2 separate regions of the Homo sapiens genome follow, and region 2 is linked to region 1. The links are contacts of gene promoters, found by promoter capture Hi-C in human tissues and cell types (Jung and others, 2019). All regions are on one chromosome and are shown on one strand. The core of a region is centred on a gene start or on the middle of the fragment in contact, and the rest is flanking DNA. Distances in the headings are between cores, read along the strand shown. Region 1 holds the start of MIEN1 (migration and invasion enhancer 1). Region 2 has its middle 13 kb from the start of PSMD3-AS1.

Evidence for each region. Contacts are between HindIII fragments. The study calls those that stand out against the background at their distance.
Region 2: a contact is called between a fragment that was not itself captured here and the fragment with the promoter of MIEN1 in region 1, in 1 of the 25 tissues and cell types used here (lymphoblastoid cells).

Annotation. Positions count from the first base shown.
Region 1 is chr17:39,729,164-39,732,784 of GRCh38, reverse strand. It overlaps MIEN1 (migration and invasion enhancer 1), which reads left to right and starts at 2,253. Exons shown (of 4, transcript NM_032339.5): 1 at 2,253-2,378; 2 at 2,494-2,591; 3 at 3,024-3,100; 4 at 3,180-3,621. The coding sequence starts at 2,290. The coding sequence ends at 3,263. RefSeq lists a silencer at 2,012-2,571. The HindIII fragment of the contact is 5,525 bases long and covers 1-2,532 here.
Region 2 is chr17:40,000,249-40,003,571 of GRCh38, reverse strand. No RefSeq gene overlaps it. Among named protein-coding and RNA genes, the nearest start is that of PSMD3-AS1, 13 kb to the left of the region's middle. The HindIII fragment of the contact is 8,544 bases long and covers 1-3,323 here.

The DNA of each region.
Region 1 (3,621 bases), core at 1,004-3,503:
CAGCAATGAAAAGGAACAAACTACTCTAGACGCTACAGGATGAACGCATTTCAAAAAACATATTGAATGAAAGAACCAGAAGCAAAAGGCCACATAGTGTATTATTCTGTTTATATGAAACATCCAGAAAAGGCAAAGTTAGAGACAGAAAGCAGATCAGTGGTTGCACAGGACTGGAATTGGGAGCTGGATTGACCAGAAACAGGTGGGAAGGACTTATCAGGTTGACGGAAACATTCTGTAACTGGATTGTAGTGATGGTTAGGCAACAGTACAAATCACTGCATTTTCTTTCTTTTCTTTTCTTTTCTTTTTTTTTTGGAACACAGTCTCACTCTGTCACCCAGGCTGGAGTGCAGTGGTGAGATCTCAGCTCACTGCAACCTCCACCTCCCAGGTTCAAGCGATTCTCCTGCCTCAGCCTCTGGAGTAGCTGGTGCGCCACCACACCCAGCTAATTTTTGTATTTTTAGTAGAGACAGGGTTTTGTCGAGTTGGCCAGGCTGGTCTTGAACTCCTGGCGTCAAGTGATCCGCCCACCTTGGCCTCCCAAAACGCTGGGATTACAGGTGTGAGCCACTACGACCTGCCTGGTTTAAAAAAAAAAAAAATGAGCCCGGGTGCAGTGGTTCACACCTGTAATCCCAGCACTTTGGGAGGCCAAGATGGGCAGATCACAACTTCAGGAGTTCGAGACCAGCCTGGCCAACATGGTGAAACCCCATCTGTACTAAAAATAGAAAAATTAGCTGGCTTGGTGGTGGGCACCTGTAATCCCAGCTGCTCAGGAGGCTGAGACAGGAGACTCACTTGAGGCCGGAAGGCAGAGGTTGCAGTAAGCCGAGATCGCACCATTGCACTCCAGCCTGGCCAACAGAGCAAGACTCTGTCTCAAAAAAATAATAATAATAGTAATACAAAAGTTAGCTGGGCGTGGTGGCTGGCACCTATGATCTCAGCTACTAGGGAGACTGAGGCAGGAGAATCGCCTGAACCCAGGAGGTGGAGGTTGCAGTGAGCCAAGATCGCGCCACTGCACTCAAGCTTGGGTGACAGAGTGAGACTCCATCTCAAAATAAATAAATAAATAAATAAATAGCCTAAAGGGACACTAGAGTGGGTGGCGTGTTAGGATACCATAGTGGTACTGTAGGCAGGGAAAAGGCAGCGAGGACTTGTGCAGACTCCATTTCCAGAGCTGCAAAATGGGAATAATGACGCCAGCCCCCCAGTGAGAGGCTGGATGAGAAGGGATGCGCAGAAACTGTTGGGGGCACAGAGCCTGAAGAGCATCTACTGTTTTCCAGTGCAGGCAAGAAGCAGCTGCAAAAGACTGGAAAAAGCAGTTTAGAGCTTTGGGATCAGAAACACTTGTGTATGTAACTACAGGGTGGTTCCAAATGCCATCAGCACCGGGCGTGGTGGCTCACGCCTGTAATCCCAGCACTTTGGGAGGCCAAGGCAGGCAGATCATTTGAGGTCAGGAGTTCGAGACCAGTCTGGCGAACATGGTGAAACCCTGTCTCTACTAAAACAAACAAACAAACAAACAAAAAACTGGGCCAGGCGCGGTGGCTCATGTCTGTAATTCCAGCACTTTAGGAGGCCGAGGCTGGTGGATCACCTGAGGTCAAGAGTTCGAGACCAGCCTGACCAACATGATGAAACCCTGTCTCTACTAAGAATACAAAATTAACCGGGTGCGGTGGCACGCGCCTGTAGTCCCAGCTACTCGGGAAGCTGAGGCAGAAGAATCGCTTGAACCCGGGAGGCAGAGGTTGCAGTGAACCGAGATCGCGCCATTGCACTCCAGCCTGGGCAACAAGAGCGAAACTCCGTCTCAAAAAAAAAAAAAAAAAAAATGCCATCGGCATGTTAGCGAGAAAATGTCAACTATTTCATGCATCAGCCACACCCACCCCCATCCCCAGGATGCTTGCCCCACCACTTTCTCTTTCTTTTGTAAACTGAAAAGCGCTTTGCAGTCTAAGATAGTCCATTAGAGTAAATGAAGCCATGAAGTCCAGCGGACACCGGGAGTGGGGAGTGGGGAAGCCCGGCACTCCGGGAGACCGGGCCAGGGAAGGAGGGTCTGGACCGGACCCAGCCCCTGCCCGGGGAGCGAGCTCCGGAGCTGCCCTACGAGGTCAAAACGTAGCAGTGGCGGAGACCCGCAGGGGGCGCCCGAACGCCACCCTCGGCCCCTCCCCGCTCCAGAGGCCCCGCCCCGTCACGTGCCCGCGGTTCGCGTCACACCCGGAAGCAGGGGCCCGAGCGGAGCCGGCCGCGATGAGCGGGGAGCCGGGGCAGACGTCCGTAGCGCCCCCTCCCGAGGAGGTCGAGCCGGGCAGTGGGGTCCGCATCGTGGTGGAGTACTGGTGAGCGGCCCCGGCTGGAGGACCCGCACCCTGGTCCCGCGGGCCGGACGGAGGTGGGTCCACGGGAGGCCCCACCCCCGAATCCCCAGCCCAGCCCCATCTCTTGACTCCCCAGTGAACCCTGCGGCTTCGAGGCGACCTACCTGGAGCTGGCCAGTGCTGTGAAGGAGCAGTATCCGGGCATCGAGATCGAGTCGCGCCTCGGGGGCACAGGTGAGGCTCGCAGAACACCTGCTGGGTCAGTCTGTGCTCTGAATCCCAGCTCTCCCGCTTTCTAGTTCTGACATTGGCTGCTTTATGTAAAGTGCCCGCAGTGCCTGGCACATGGTAAAATGTCCGGCCAACATGAGTTCCCTTCCATAGGTCAGGGGGTGTCACAGAGGCCTGTGGGGAAAAACCTATTAGACTGCAATCGTGTAGGGTTGGAGGGGAGGGAGTCCTTTATTGAGTGTTGCGAGGGGCACACAGGCGAGGCCTCCCTCAGGTTCCCTGGAGTTGACCCAGGGTTGGGGAATTGCTTAAGGAGCTACAAATGGGTCTCCAGTGGGATTGATGGGGGACTTGAAGGCGGGGGACCCCTTTGGAGGAACTCCTGACTTCTGCCTATGTTCTCAGTGTACCATTTATCTGTTGATTTCTTACCAGGTGCCTTTGAGATAGAGATAAATGGACAGCTGGTGTTCTCCAAGCTGGAGAATGGGGGCTTTCCCTATGAGAAAGATGTGAGTATTTACAGCGTTGGGAGGACCTCTTGGTCACCCTACCCCAACAGTGCATCATCCTGTCATTCCACTCCTCTAGCTCATTGAGGCCATCCGAAGAGCCAGTAATGGAGAAACCCTAGAAAAGATCACCAACAGCCGTCCTCCCTGCGTCATCCTGTGACTGCACAGGACTCTGGGTTCCTGCTCTGTTCTGGGGTCCAAACCTTGGTCTCCCTTTGGTCCTGCTGGGAGCTCCCCCTGCCTCTTTCCCCTACTTAGCTCCTTAGCAAAGAGACCCTGGCCTCCACTTTGCCCTTTGGGTACAAAGAAGGAATAGAAGATTCCGTGGCCTTGGGGGCAGGAGAGAGACACTCTCCATGAACACTTCTCCAGCCACCTCATACCCCCTTCCCAGGGTAAGTGCCCACGAAAGCCCAGTCCACTCTTCGCCTCGGTAATACCTGTCTGATGCCACAGATTTTATTTATTCTCCCCTAACCCAGGGCAATGTCAGCTATTGGCAGTAAAGTGGCGCTACA
Region 2 (3,323 bases), core at 354-2,853, 270 kb before region 1:
TTGCCTCATGTTGATGACCACTCACTGATCAGGGTGGTGGCTGGTGAAGTTTGGGGTGACTGTAGCAATTTCTTTTTTTTTTCCTTATTTTTGTTTTTATTTTTCCTAGTGCCTTCAGGTGAAAACAATTTCTTAAAATAAGAAAATAATGAAATTTTCTGCATCAATTGACTTTTCTTTTTTCATTTTTGTGTTTTTGTTTGTTTTGTTTTGTTTTGAGATGGGGTCTCCCTCTGTTGCCCAGGCTGGAGTGCAGTGGCACGATCCCGGCTCACTGCAAGCTCCGCCTCCCAGATTCAAGCAATTTTCCTGCCTCAGCCTCCCAAGAAGCTGGGATTACAGGCTCCCACCACCATGCCCGTCTCATTTTTGTATTTTTAGTAGGGACGAGATTTCACCATGTTGGCCAGGTTGGTCTCGAACTCCTGACCTCAGGTGATCTGCCCGCCTCGGCCTCCCAAAGTGCTGGCATTACAGGTGTGAGCCACCATGCCCGGCCGACTCTCCATTTCTAGAAAGGTTTCTCTATAGCATATGATGCTGTTTGACATCGTTCTACCCACAGTAGAACTTCTTTCAAAATTGAAGTCAATGCTGGCCTGGAGCGGTGGCTCACGCCTGTAATCACAGCACTTTGGGAGGCTGAGGCGGGTGGATCACCTGAGGTCAGGAGTTCGAGACCAGCCTGGCCAACATGGTGAAACCCCATCTCTTCCAAAAATAGAAAAAAATTAACTGGGCGTGGTGGCGTGCACCTGTAGTCCCAGCTACTGGGGAGGCTGAGGTGGGAGAACCTCTTGGACCCAGGAGGTGGAGGTTGCAGTGAGCCAAGATCATGCCACTGCACTGCACTCCAGCCTGGGCGACAGAGCAAGACTCCATCTCAAAAAAAAAAAAAAAGAAAGAAAGAAATGGAGTCAATCCTCTCAAACTGCTGCTGCTTTATCAACTAAGTATATGTAATATCCTAAATCTTTGTTGCCATTTCAGCAATGTTCACAGCCTCTTCACCGGGAGTAGATTCCATCTCAAGAAACCACTTTCCTTGCTCATCCATAGAAGCAACTCATCTGTTCAAATGTTATCATGAGATGGCAGCAATTCAGTCCCATCTTCAGGCTCCACTTTTTTTTTTTTTTTTTTTTTTTTTGTAGAGACGAGGTCTTGCTATGTTACCCAGGTTGGTTTGGAACTTCTGAGCTCAAGTTATCCTCCTGCCCTGGCCTCCCAAATTGCTGGGATTGCAGGTGTGAGCCAGTGGGCCTGGCCTCAGGGTCCACTTCTAATTCTAGTTCTTTTGCTATTTCTACATCTGCAGTTTTTTCCTCCACTGAAGTGTGTCTTCAGCCCCTCAAAGTCACCCATGAAGGTTGTAATCAACTTCTTTCAAACTCCTGCTAATGTTAATTTTTTGAGATGGAGCCTTGCTTTTGTCACCCAGGCTGGAGTGCAATGGCATGATCTCGGCTCACTGCAACCTCCGCCTCCCGGGTTCAAGCGATTCTCCTGCCTCAGCCTCCCAAATAGCTGGGGTTACAGGAAAGCGCCACCATGCCCGGCTAATTTTGTATTTTTAGTAGAGATGTGGTTTCACCATGTTGGTCAGGCTGGTCTCGAACTCCTGTCCTCAAGTGATCCACCCGCTTCATCCTCCCAAAGTGCTGGAGTTACAGGTGTGAGCCGCTGCACTCGGCCTAATTTTTAAATTTTTTTAATACAGATGGGTTCTCACTTTGTTATTCAGGCTGCTCTTGGCCTCCTGGGCTCAAGCGATCTTCTTGCCTCAGCCTCCCAAAGTGCTGGAATTATAGGTGTCAGCCACCACTCCCGGCCTAATCATGAATATTCTTTTTTTGTTTTTTGAGAGAGTCTCACTCTGTCACCCAGGCTGAAGTGCATTGGCACGATCTCGGCTCACTGCAACCTCTGCCTCCCGGATTCAAGCGATTCTCATGTCTCAGCCTCCCGAGTAGCTGGGACTACAGGTGCGTGCCACCATACCTGACTAAGTTTTGTATTTATTTATTTATTTATTTATTTATTTATTTATTTATTTATTTTTAGTGGAGATGGAGTTTCACCATGTTGGCCAGCTTGGTCTCAAACTCCTGACCTCAGTTTATCCACCTGCCTCAGCCTCCCAAAGTGCTGGGATTATAGGCATGAGCCACCACGTCCGGCCCTAATCATGAATATTCTTAATGGCATCTAGAATGATGAATGCTTTCTAAGTTTTCAGTTTACCCAGATCCATCAGCGGAATCACTATGGCAGCTCTAGCCTTACAAAATGTATTTCTTAAAAAAGACTTGAAAGTTGAAATTACTTCTTCATCCATGGGCTGCAGAATGGATGTGTTAGCAGGAATGAAAACAATATTATTTCCCTGGTATCCCTCCATCAGAGCCCTTGGGTAATCAGGTGCATCGTCAATCAGCAGTAATAACTTTAAAAAATATTTTTTTTGGCTGAGTGCGGTGGCTCATGCCTGTAATCCCAGCTACTCAGGAGGCTGAGGCAGGAGAATCGCTTGAACCTAGAAGCAGAGGTTGCAGTGAGCTGAGATCATGCCACGGCACTCCAGCCTGGCCGACAGAGCCGACGAAGGAGTTGGTCTCAACAGTGGCTTAAAATGTTCGGTAAACCATGCTGGGAACAGATGGGCTGTCATCCAGGCTTTGTTGTTCCATCCACAGAGCACAGGCAGAATAGATTTAGCATCATTCTTAAGAGCCCTGGGATTTTCGGAATGGTAAATGAGCATTGGCTTCAACTTAAAGTCGCCAGCTGCATTAGCCCTAACGAGAGTCAGCCTGTCCTTCGAAGCTTTGAAGCCAGGGATTGACTTCTCTTCTGTAGCTATGAAAGTCCCAGGTGGCATCTTCTTCCAATAGAAGGCTGTTTGTCTACATTGAAAGTCTGTTTTTGAGTGTAGCCACCTTCGTCAGTGAGATCAGCTAGATCTGATGGATAACTTACTGCAGCTTCTCCATCAGCACTTGCTGCTTCACTTTGCACTTTTATGTTACAGAGACGGCTTCTTTCTTTCAACCTCACAAAACAACCTCTGTTAGCTTCTGACTTTTCTTCTGCAACTTTCTCACCTCTCTCTGCCTTCAAAGGATTGAAGAGAGTGAGGGCCTTTCTCCGGACTAGGCTTTGGCTTAAAGGAATGTTGTGGCTGATTTGATCTTCTTTCCAGACTCAAACTTTCTCCGTATCAGCAATAATGCTATTCTGCTTTCATATCATTTGTGTGTCCACTAGAGCAGCACTTTTAATTTAATTTATCATTTTTATTTTTTATTGTTTTGAGACAGAAT